2 separate regions of the Homo sapiens genome follow, and region 2 is linked to region 1. The links are contacts of gene promoters, found by promoter capture Hi-C in human tissues and cell types (Jung and others, 2019). All regions are on one chromosome and are shown on one strand. Each heading gives the region's core, a stretch centred on a gene start or on the middle of the fragment in contact. The rest is flanking DNA. Distances are from core to core; before and after follow the strand shown. Region 1 holds the start of GALNT5 (polypeptide N-acetylgalactosaminyltransferase 5). Region 2 has its middle 13 kb from the start of NR4A2.

What was found. Contacts are between HindIII fragments. The study calls those that stand out against the background at their distance.
Region 2: a fragment that was not itself captured here is called in contact with the fragment with the promoter of GALNT5 in region 1 in 1 of the 25 tissues and cell types used here (dorsolateral prefrontal cortex).

What each region holds. Positions count from the first base shown.
Region 1 is chr2:157,252,767-157,259,210 of GRCh38, forward strand. GALNT5 (polypeptide N-acetylgalactosaminyltransferase 5) reads left to right here and starts at 4,939. Exons shown (of 10, transcript NM_014568.3): 1 at 4,939-6,444. The coding sequence starts at 5,317. The HindIII fragment of the contact is 4,009 bases long and covers 2,630-6,444 here.
Region 2 is chr2:156,316,407-156,322,318 of GRCh38, forward strand. No RefSeq gene overlaps it. Among named protein-coding and RNA genes, the nearest start is that of NR4A2, 13 kb to the right of the region's middle. The HindIII fragment of the contact is 3,436 bases long and covers 564-3,999 here.

The DNA.
Region 1 (6,444 bases), core at 3,689-6,188:
TCAGTTACGCAGGATTAGTAAGTTCTGGAGAGCTAATGTACAGCCTGATGACCATAGTTGATAATAATATATTGTATACTTGAAACTTGCTAAGAGAGTAGATCTTAAATGTTCTCACCACACACAAAAAAAGATAATTATGTGAGATAATGGAGATCAGCTGCATTGAGGCAATCATACCACAATGTATAAGGCTATCCAAAGTCATGTTGTACACCTTAAATATTTAATATATGTATCATTTTATTAGTCAATTATAGCTCAGTAAAACTGGGGAAAAAGAAATTCAGTGATGCATCCATGGATAATCATTATTCTCTGTAAAATATACATTTAAATTAATTTTCCTTTTACATCTTTCTTTTTACTTAGGAGTGAGTAGTTGAGTAAATATCATAAAATAAAACAGATATTAGTTACTTAGGATATACTCACATAGTCAAGAAATCTTCAAATACCCAGATAAAGTAACTGTAGATGCAAAGCCAGAGAGCTGGAACCGGTGTTTCTAAGATTCTGTACTTCCATCAGGGAGATTTAAGGCTAGATATAAAACAGTGTTTACTGAGCTCCTACTTGATTAACAATGAGGATGATTCAAAGACATTTGCCATGAGAATATAACACAAATATACTTTTCACTCTAACTTTATGCAGATCTGTTTTGCTGAACAGTTTTTGATCTAGTCTGAGAAAATTAAATGTTGAGGATTAAATGAGATACCGTGAAGTGACTAGTGGTAGGCCCTCAGTAAATTCCCAATGAAAGGTTGCTATTAATATGATTATCCTGACAACAACCAAATAGAGTAGAGGGCAAGTCCTCCTACTATTATGCTCGTTTTACAGAAGAAGAAACTAAAATCTGTTTTTAAATGTTTAGTACAAGCTGGAGTCAGACTGATAATTGGAATAACCCCTCCAAATGTCTCCCAAGGATAATTCGTAACTCCAGATTTTCAGATGGATATCATCTCCAACTAAGTATGTACAGATTCTTGAGAAATTTGACCAGCCAAAGGTACCTGCATTCTACGACTTGGGATGACAAGCCAGGCTCCCTAACTGTGGGGTACCTCAAATAACCAACCCACTTACGTATTTAGTTTCCTGCTGGTAACATGGAAATTAATACAACTAAAATTTTAGAAGCACCGTCATTTACCAATATACAAATGTCATGTGTTGGGCAATATGTGTGTTGATGAAAAGGTAGAATTTCCTAATATCCTTTTTTTTCTATTCCTTTTACCTATGCAATTCATTGATCTGAGATGTGAAACAGCATGTGTGTCGGAAAAGAGAAAAAAAAGGAGAAAGATGTACAGCTATGAGGGCCACAGAAATTATTACTGAGTGCCTGAAGACACATAGTGTTGAATTAGTGGTATGGCTTATAACCAACTTCTACCATCATCACAGATTATCATAAACTCACAAGGGAAAAGACCAAGAAGAGGCTGGGAAGAGAACCTTACACAAGCTTTTCCATGTGTGACACATCCATAGTCATATGGCTATTAGTGGCCAAGTCAGTACTTTAGACCAGGTCTGACAACAAATCTACTCCTCCATTTCTAGGATATTTAATCAATGTTTCCTTACTCTCCTACCCACTCTTCACATTTCATTCTGAATTGTATGTCAAATAGACCGAAGACTAAGCCAGAGTTAATGTGTTGCTTTACCCATGATAGATAAGCCAAGATTCCCTTTTAATTTTCTTAACATGTTGCTCTCCTGTTGCAAGTAATTTGTGTTTTGATTCGCAAGGACAAACCAGAGAGGGATAAAAAGAAATCAGTACTCTTTGATAAAATTTATATGGAAACAAGAATATATTTCAAGCAGTGTTTTAAACTGCCAAGCATAGAATATAACAAGTGTTGACTTTCCTAAAAGACATTTGAGTAATTCCAACTGCCATTTGGGGTGGGATGGTGGCTGGACAAGATTGAATCATGCAGAGTAAAATAATTTTAAAGTATTCTATTTTCATGTTTAAAACAATATTGTAATGCAAACCATTTATCCATGATGCTAAAAAAAATTCTCACTTTATTTTCGAATGTGGATGCTAAAGATGTGTGCTATGTTTTTTGCTGGTGGCGTTCTTTTTTTATTATTATTATTATTATACTGGTGGCGTTCTACTGAGGGGAGTTTTAAGGTTGTTAGGGGCAGAGACAATGTCACCTACTTCATGTTTTGGGCATGTAGGGAGTTCTCAGTGAACAATGGTCTTGTTAAATCTATAATTAGAGGAAATAAGAATGGCAAGAATAAAATAAAATACTCAGATTTGTTTCTTCCCCATTGCCAGAATCATGTTAGTCACTAGTTTTCTACTTGTTTTTTTGGGAAGAGCTGGTACATTGCCTCCCACATGCATCCGACACTCCTATTACAGCAAAGTATTAGCAACAATATGAATGGCTAACATTTAAAGAGTACCTTCAATATAACAATAACTTTAACCATTTTTAAATATTCTCACATTAATCTGCAAAGCAGAATTTTTTTTTATTGCTCAGTAACCACATAAAATTAACTAGCCTGCAAGATCATACAGCTAGAGAGCAGTATTGTGTGATATTGAAGCACACGGACTACAGTCGTGTATTCAAGACCCAACCCCTCCAATCTCTACCAGAAGTTGCTTTACCTCTCTAAGGTTTCATTTGCTGACTACAAAATACATATTGTAATTTACTCCTTCACATTAGATTCTTGTGAGGATTGAGTGAGATAGTCAATGGAAAGAACTTAGCAAAGTGCTTGAGATATATATATGAATTTGGAATCTCTCCTTCCCCTCCCAAGTCATTGGGAACATAAGTTTACCTCAAAGCATGGAAGCTAGACCCTCCCCACACTAGAGTAATGAACAGCAGTGTTGTCCACAAATCACTCAGAGTTCCTCAGAGAGAAGGACAGTGGTCCCGAGAAGTGCTTCTCAAACTCTATGGACAATCTTTACAACTGGCAATGTCAAAATGTGTATTCTGATTTAGTTGTTATGGGAATGCATAGATTTTATTAGACTGTACTTTAGACAGGGAAGGAATGTCACACAAGTTGTAGACTGTATTGGCCAGGATTTTTCAGAGAAACAGAACCAATAGGATTCATAGAGGTAGATAAGTGAGTTGCAGTTTATTACAGGAATTGGCTCATGTGGTTATGGAGACTGAGAAACCTCAGTCCAGGCCACCTGCAAGCTGGAGAACCAGGAAAGCCAGTAACATGGCACATTCTGAGTCCAAAGGCCTGAGAACCAGGGAAGCCAATAACATCACTCTCAGTCTGAGGTCAAAAGCCTGAGAACCTAGTGAGGGATGTGGAGGTTGTGGGGGCAGACTGGTACAAGCCCCAGAGGCCAAAGCCAGAGAATCTAAAGTTCTAGTCCAAAGGCAGAAGAAGAAAGATGTCCCAGCTCACTAACAGAGACAGAATCCACCTTTCCTCTGCCTTTTTTTCTATCTGGGCCCTCAACCAATTAGTGGTGCCTGCCCACATTGGGTGAGGGCATCTCCTCCCCACTCAGTGCACTGAGTCAAATGCCAATCTCTTCTGGAAACACCCTCACAGATATACCTAAAAATAATGCTTTACTGGTTCTCTGGGTGTTCCTTAGCCCAGTCAAGTAGACACCTAAAATTAAATGTCTCATAGGCAATGTTCAAAAACCAAAAACAAACAAACAAAAAATTGAGACTTTTTTTCTAGACCAGTGTTTCTCAACTTTAGCTGCACATTTGAAAGACCTGGGAAGCTTTGTAAAAAAAAAAAAAAAAAAAAAAATATATATATATATATATATATATATATATATATATATATATATTTAATACAATATCAGCCCAAATGTCATCTCCACCTCCTCTCTCATCAATTGACCAGAGTTTTGGGGATCTTGTTTCAAGTGGTTCTAATGAAAAGCCTGTGGCGGAACTGCTACCCTACCAGTCAACCAGCATCACTCAAAATCTGGTCCAAGTCCTGGTGTGGTCCTGAAACTGTTGCTTGCTGGTTTAAGACGAGATAAGTACTGAAACTGAGAGTAAGTGTATCTTAATCTGTTCAGGCTACTATAGAAGAATAACATAGACTAAGTGACTCATAAACAACAGAAACTTATTTCTCACAGTTCTAGAGACTGAGAAGTCAGAAATCAAGGCACCAGCAGATTCGTTGACTGGTGAAGGCCCATTTCCTGGTTCATAGATGGCACCTTCTCATTATGTCTTCACTTTGTGGAATGGCAAGGCAATAGGGCCTCTTTTTTAAGGGTGCTGATCCCATTCATGAGGGCTCTATCCTTATAATGAAATCACCTTCAAAAGCCCTACCTCCTAATACTATCACATTTATGATTAGGTTTCAACATATGAATTTTGGGTGGACATAAACATTCAGACCATAACAAAGTGTTTAGAAACTTTTATAGCAGTATGACAAATTAAGTTTATTTGTAATCAAATGTAATAATAAAAACAGATGGATTAGTGAAAAAAAAATAGTTGGCTTACAAAGAAATACATTGAAACCCCTTGAATGAATGATCTAAATAATTAAACATATACATCTCTGGAAGTGAGGATATACCAGGCCCCTTCTTTAAGCTGTTATGTCTTAAAGCTGAAATGTTAACTTCAGTGATAAATTCCTCAGGCAGAGCATTGGCACCTGGCTACAACAGGGTTAATGAGCAGGAGTAGGGTAGGTGGGGTCACAAACCAGGAACACATGCCCTCCAAGTTAGATAGCTTTTTTTCCTCTTTAATTGCCGTTTAAACACACATGCTCTCACATAACACAGAAGGTGAGAGCTGAATGAAGTTTTCTGGGTAATGGCATGAAATGTTTTCCTTATGAGAAGTGGTGTTGAGTTACAGCGTGCAGACGGAGAACGGGGAGGAGAGAAACGGCAGTCTCAATCTGGCCCCCACCTTTTCTTGGGCTTGTAGGAAGGTGGACATGGGCTCCCGGAGACAAGACAAGTGATATGTTGAACTGTTCGGTGGCTGGAATCAACTGCTCCTGGAGTGACCTAAGGCCAGTGTTTATCAGAACTTAGCCAGGGCCAGCCAAGCAGGCACAGATGCTCTGCTATGAAATGCCACGCAGGCAGAGACTGACAAGCGGTAGGAACTGAGCTTTCCCCTTGGACTGCTGCTTCCTGCTGTGTTCAGGGGAGGGGGTCACTTTCTGGCAACTCTGCTGCTGCTGCTGCTGCTGCTGCTACTTCAGCTTCCTCTCCACTCAAGGTAAGCAGGCTAAGGGAGGGCAGGCTGCTAGGGAAAGCTTTGTACCATGAACAGGATCCGAAAGTTTTTCCGAGGAAGTGGGCGAGTCTTGGCATTTATCTTTGTAGCTTCTGTCATCTGGCTCCTCTTTGACATGGCAGCTCTCCGCCTCTCATTCAGTGAGATCAACACTCGGGTCATCAAGGAAGACATTGTGAGGAGGGAGCGGATAGGATTCAGAGTTCAGCCAGACCAAGGAAAAATTTTTTACAGCAGCATAAAAGAGATGAAACCTCCCCTAAGGGGACATGGGAAAGGGGCATGGGGCAAAGAGAATGTTAGAAAAACTGAGGAGAGTGTGCTCAAGGTTGAGGTGGACTTGGACCAAACCCAGAGGGAAAGAAAAATGCAGAATGCCCTGGGAAGGGGCAAGGTTGTGCCGTTGTGGCATCCTGCACATCTGCAGACCCTCCCTGTGACTCCTAACAAGCAGAAGACAGACGGGAGAGGCACCAAACCTGAAGCCTCCTCTCACCAGGGGACACCAAAGCAAACGACAGCTCAGGGGGCTCCAAAGACCTCATTCATAGCAGCAAAAGGAACTCAGGTAGTCAAAATATCAGTACACATGGGACGTGTCAGTTTAAAACAGGAGCCCCGGAAGAGTCATAGTCCCAGCAGTGACACATCAAAACTAGCAGCTGAAAGGGACTTGAATGTGACCATCAGTCTTAGTACTGATAGACCAAAGCAGCGATCACAGGCAGTAGCAAACGAGAGGGCACACCCTGCCAGCACAGCAGTGCCGAAGTCTGGGGAAGCCATGGCCTTAAACAAAACTAAGACTCAGAGCAAAGAAGTCAATGCAAATAAACACAAAGCCAATACGAGTCTTCCTTTTCCTAAGTTCACTGTCAATTCAAATCGCTTAAGGAAGCAATCTATTAATGAGACACCTTTGGGAAGTTTGTCAAAGGATGATGGAGCTAGAGGGGCTCATGGGAAGAAACTCAATTTCTCTGAAAGCCATCTTGTGATTATAACCAAAGAGGAAGAGCAAAAGGCAGACCCCAAAGAGGTCTCTAATTCTAAAACCAAAACAATATTTCCTAAAGTATTGGGTAAAAGCCAAAGTAAACACATTTCCAGGAATAGAAGTGAGATGTCTTCCTCTTCACTTGCTCCACATAGAGTG
Region 2 (5,912 bases), core at 1,032-3,531, 940 kb before region 1:
TACACAGAACACAGACTCCTGGCACCGAATAGATTCATTATGGATTTGTTAGAAGCTTGTTTTTAACTGTATCAATTCAGTATGCAGGGAGGATAATTAGTCAAAAGACCAAGAAAGCAAATGTAGCTATCTTCATTCCTCAAAAATAGAAACCCCTGTTAGGGTCTCCATAATTCAACTTTTCAGAACTTCATTTCAGAAAGACACTTTGAGAACATGTCACAAGGCTTCCTTGTCCCTAAATCACTGATTATGAATTATTTCCGGATAACTGCAGACAAGTAAGTCTTATAAAACAAGAAGCATAACACATGCAGAACATACTTATCCTACTTCCAGCCCTCAGATAAGTGAAGCTTAAATTAAATGTCAAAAGACGAACAAAATCTATTGTATAAGCAAACAGCTGATCTAAATCCACTATGTTTTGTCTGTCAAGTATGTATATTCTAATAAATTTTATAATATAATAAGACTATTTTTGCCACCCTTTGACCACACCAAGTTAGATGCAGACAGTCTTCTGAATAAATATTACTCTCTGCTTGACTGTCTAAGCAAAATCTATTTATACCATTTGTTAGACTGTGAGAGTAGCTCTTAAGAAAATGTTAATAACAGCTAAACACTGTCTACCACAAATATAGAAGAAGTAGAAGAAAGAATAAAAGGTTCATGCATAGCCAGCTTTTCATTTTTACAAAGTGGCCTGCTCAGGACTGTGAACTAACTAATATGCAATTTGGTTTTCCTGATAGGAAACCTAGAAGCTTGCTGAAAACTCACATGATTAATATAAGGGAATTCAAACAGCTTGAGGATGAAAAACAGTTTTCTTTTTTACTACTTTTAATATGACTTTCTCAATGGCATAAACACACGCAGCAATCATTCCCACTCTTTTCTTGGGCAGCAAAGCAAGCAACTCAGAACTCCTTCACCCATAAACTACGAAAAGCAATGAAAATAATCCCTTCTTTAAAATTTCAGCGAGAAGAAGATTATGCTATTATCACTTACCCCACTGTGGTTTCAGGTCAATGCTCCCCTCCAGAAGTCTGAACATGCCTGAAGCAACATCCTCAACTCTCAGCAGGTGAGAAAATCTTTAGTTAGTTTCTGGAGAAGCAGAAAGGTACAATCCTTCTGGGACAGGCAGTGCTAAAGCAAGGCACTTGTAAGTTCATATCCTGGCTCTCAGTTCGAATTCCAACTCTTCCATGTACTTATAGGCCAAGATAATAAACGATACCTCTCAACCTCATCTCTTCATTTGTAAAATGGAAATAACAGTGCCAACGTCATATTTGGAGTTGAGATGATTATATGATATGATATCTGGAATTGCAACATGTAGTAGACAGAGTTATTGTAATGGAGGAATGTCAGAAACCATGGAATGTGTCCTCCGTCTGCCACCTGCTTCTGCCCTTCACAATGACCCAAATCTTTGAAGGAGTCCACATCACCCCTGCCTAAAGATTGCAGCACCTCTTAGGAAACAAGCTCTCTGACTAGAATGGAATTATAGGAAATGCAAGTTTCCATGCCAATGATTTTGTTCCTTTTGACTCCTTTATGACACCTTGAAACATCTGTGTGGTCCTCATTAGCCCAGAGCTTCCCATACTTAGAGCCACACTCTCCTAACATAGTCTTGCTATGGCCTCTATATCCAACTTTCACCTTATACCTACCTGCCTGCCCAGCACCCAGCATCCTCCATGTGCCCTTTTTATTCACTTCCATAGATCTCTTCTTACTTTAAACTCATTCACATTATTGTTGGCACCCTGGCCATTTTAGTCCTCTCCTTCTCATCTCTGCCTTCAACTCTAGGACTCTGATTAAATAAATCCTCTAAATTGCCTCCTCCTCTTCCAACTTATCAGTCCCTGCTCACCTGATCATTCACAGTATGGTTCATTATCTTTATCCATCCCTATCTCTACCCATTTCCCCCAAAAGCTTTTGCTTCCTCCTTCTTGTTTGGCAATAGCATATAAATGAGAAGGCCTGTGACATGGACAATGGGACATTCACTACCATCCCTTTTCTCTAGCTTTCCTCTATGCCTTTTTTGCTGTTCACTCTCTTCCCAGGTACCAGGTTGCTGAGGAAGATGAAAAGGGGGTGGCTACATGTGCTTATGTGCTTGTCCCCCTGGCCCTTCCTTATGACACCCACCTGGCTTCAAGCAGATAACAGGCCAGAGGATAAAGAGATACAGAAGTCCATTGGAGTGGTGACCAAAAACGAACAAACCAGAGTGAAGAAAGAGGACTGGCCAGAAAACCACAGTAGTAGGCCAGGCATGGTGGCTCACACCTGTAATCCCAGCACTTTGGGAGGCCAAGGCAGGTGGATCACCTGAGGTCAGGGGTTTGAGACCAGCCTGGCCAACACTGTGAAACCCCATCTCTACTAGAAACACACAAAAAAGAAAAAAAAAAAAGCTGGGTGGGGTGCCCGCACCTGTCAGGGAGACAGAGGCTGCAGTGAGCTGAGAACACACCACTGCACTCCAGCCTGGGCGACAGAGCGAGGACTCCATCTCAATCTCAAAAAAAAAAAAAAAAGAAAAGAAAAGAAAAGAAAGAAAGAAAAAGAAAAGAAAAGAAAACCACAGTGCTGAGATTCCCTTATCAGTATCTCTCAATAAAGGCAGCCCTTTCTCTCACTTCATGTACAATTGGTCCTCAGTAGTGACACTATCAACCTTTTTAACTGAGACCCCCCCATAAATATATTTCATAGTGTCACCCAAGAAAAATTGCAGCAAACAATGCTTAGACGTCTTATATTTTTGCTATCCTGCAAAGCCCTCATAATTTCTATTCTATTATTCTTTCATTTCTTTAGAAGAAAATTCTGATGGCAACCCAATATAATATCTTTGAAAACCACTAATGGGTCAGGACCCTCAGTTTGAAAAACACTGGCCTATTTGCAGCTTATTGATGAGGAGTCCTCTCTCTGTCCTTACCCTTCTCGAAATCCCAATTTAATTTGAGTCTGTCAAAACAATCCTCTTGTCCAAGCTTCCAGAGCCAAGAAATTGTGGTAGACTCAATCCCTCTGGAAGTCCCTCTAGTACCCGATGAAAGACTTCTCACACTCGCAGCAGCCGCCCTCTACTGTACCAGGGACGTCTCTAGCAGAAACTTGGGCATTGTATCTGCTAGAACGGGTGACACATGTCCTGGAAATCCTAGTTTATCTAAACACAGGTTGAGATAGAAATAAGAAAAAATGGGAGTGAGAAAGATTAAGTGTGGGAAGAAGAAATGAGGAGAAAAGCGTTGAAGTTGAGCTCTGCTAGGATCCAGGTGCCGGCTCGGCGCTGTGTCTAGTTAAACTCGGCGCGACAGGGTTCAGCTAAGCCGAGAAGAGGGCAGCGAGCGGCCCGCAGTCAGCATCTTGTAGAGAAGAAGGAGCGCTCCCAGCCGCGGGAAGATAAGCGTACAGGCGGCCCCAAGGCCCCTACAGGCGCAGCCCTGATCTGGCCACTTGACTAGACGCTCGCTCCAGCGCTCGCAGGCCTAGGGCTCATTACATGCGTTGCGAGGAGACCTGAAAGCAGGGCGGGAACGCACAATCTATCTTCAGAGCTTTGGGTCGTGAGCACACGTGTGGAGCATGGTTGTGGCATGGGCGTCTGGGCCCCTCTCCTAGACCTCCACGAGGTGCGGACGCGCCTCTGCCCCGCCCTTTTGTGCGCCCTCACCACTAGAAAAAGAGTTTTCCCCAGTGTCGCGTGGGAGGTCGCCCCAGTCCAGCTCAGCGTTCCAAGAGACCAGAGACTGACCGGAAATCGTTGGGTGCAGGGAGAAGCAGGAGACGCGCTCCGCCTCCTGTGCTCGTGCCCTAGCGCAACAGACGCGACCTAGAGGCGACGGCAGCCTGTTGCAGCCTTCGCCCTGAGGGTGGGGGGCGGGGGGGTGTAGAACAGCTGAGGAAGACGCAGGGAGCAGCTGGGGAGGAAAGGGAGGGACACCGAGGAAACAAAGTTCACCCAAGTGAATGCGTCCTAATTGCTCCAAGGCTCTCTCCGCAAAGTCTACGACTGCAAGCCGCAAAGTCAAACTACGTCTCCAAAACGCAGTGGGCAGAGCAGGAGGGCTTGTGTCTCCATTTTCGCCGCAGGGCGGATCGCGGACACAAGTCCTCTCCAGTAATTCCGAAGCCTCGAAATAAGACTATGCTGGGAGGAGGGGTTGGGGGGTGACTAATAAGAAGGCGTGGGGGTGGGGGTGGGGAGTACGCGGCAAGAACCCTGCTTTCTGGAATTCTCCCGCCACTGTCTGCAGGGCCCAGAGCGCACTTCGCGGCTAGGGAACAAAATTGCCGCTCTCTTCGAGCGCCCCCAGCGTGGGGTGGGGCCCTGCTTTCCCGCGTCAGGACCGCCCCACCAGGCGCCCTCCGACGGAAGCTGGACTTTTCCTAAGGAAAGGCAAAGTCAAAGTCGGAGGAAAGATCTTTCTTGCGGCCCCAGCTGTCGCTCCTAATGGTCTCGGGGAACATACTAAAGGAAAATGACTTTAAATCACAGTCTTGCCATCCTAAATAGTTATGTGCAATATTTTGGTTTCTAGCAAAATTTAAAAGTAAAATGGGGATTTCCATATGTTCATTTTATTATTAAAAACGAATTACTAAAAAGTGATGACCTGTTTGGAATTCATATCTTGCTTTACGAGCAGTCAGCCAGTATCGACTGAACACAATAAATGCAGGGGTGCGAAACGTGATTGCTCGGGTTCGAGTTCTGTCGGATGCACCGATCTAAGCAGAACCTTTCCCGAAGACTTGGAATTGGGTGCGCTTTTTTTTTTAAGTTGTGGCTGAGCCCTATGGGGAAGAAGGGTTAACTGGGCGTCGGCTGAGACCCCAAACCCTCTTCCTCCTCCATGAGACTCCAAAATTGAGTCAGTCCCAGCCCATAGTTGCCTGGGAAGCTTGGAATCCTGAGAAATTCCGGGGTGCGGCCACTATGCAAGCATTCCTATTCTGACAGCGGGGACAAATGGAGAGGGGACCTTACAACCTCCTTTGGAGAAGAATATATGAGAAACTCACTTCCAGACCTCTATTCAATAGTGAAAATAATACTGAGAAAAAGTTTTAAAATCTCCAAGAATAGATACTCTCCTTTCCCCTTCCACCTTGAGGGAAACGGTCTCCATTTTTGACCTGGATTTGAGAGCATCGGGGCTTGAGACAAGCGCGTCTTCCACAGAGAGAGGCGAGGCCCAGGCAGGGAGCCCCCCAGCCTTTACTCTCGGCACCTCGGCGCTGCCGCGCGGCGGATACAAAAGGAAACGGACGAGCGTGCGACGCGAGGCGGGGAACTGGTGGCTCGAAGACGCGCAACACGCGCGATGCCTAGAAGTGCTCTGGTGTCACTCCCCTGTATAGGACCTGGCGAGATGGAATTGTATCCTGTACTGGAAAACTCTGTGATCAAAATATTGCAATGAAATTAAACTTTTCCCTCACAGATCTGTTTGTATCTTGGAAACATTTCTGCAATGCCGACGCCTAGGTTTAAAATACAATTAGATAATTTGATATTCTCGGTGACGCACTGACACCGAGAAAGCCAAGAGATTCTCCAAACAAAGTGAAATTGAACCTTCAAATGACATTCTTAAGTTTGCAAGAATATCTATATCTCCTTGTTGTGCTCCTTGCATGCGGAGAACCAGTGGCCCGTAAGACTTATGACCGGTGTTTTTTAGGGGAGGAGCCACCTAAACTATCTAGGAATGGAGTCCAGTGCCAGAAAGAAATACACAAGGTCGTTGGGTGCCGCTGTCACTGCAGGGCGCCATCGGCTCCCTGGGCCTTACATATCTCTCTTGTGAGAATCAGTACCCCAAATACTCTCTCTCTCTCTCACACACACACAC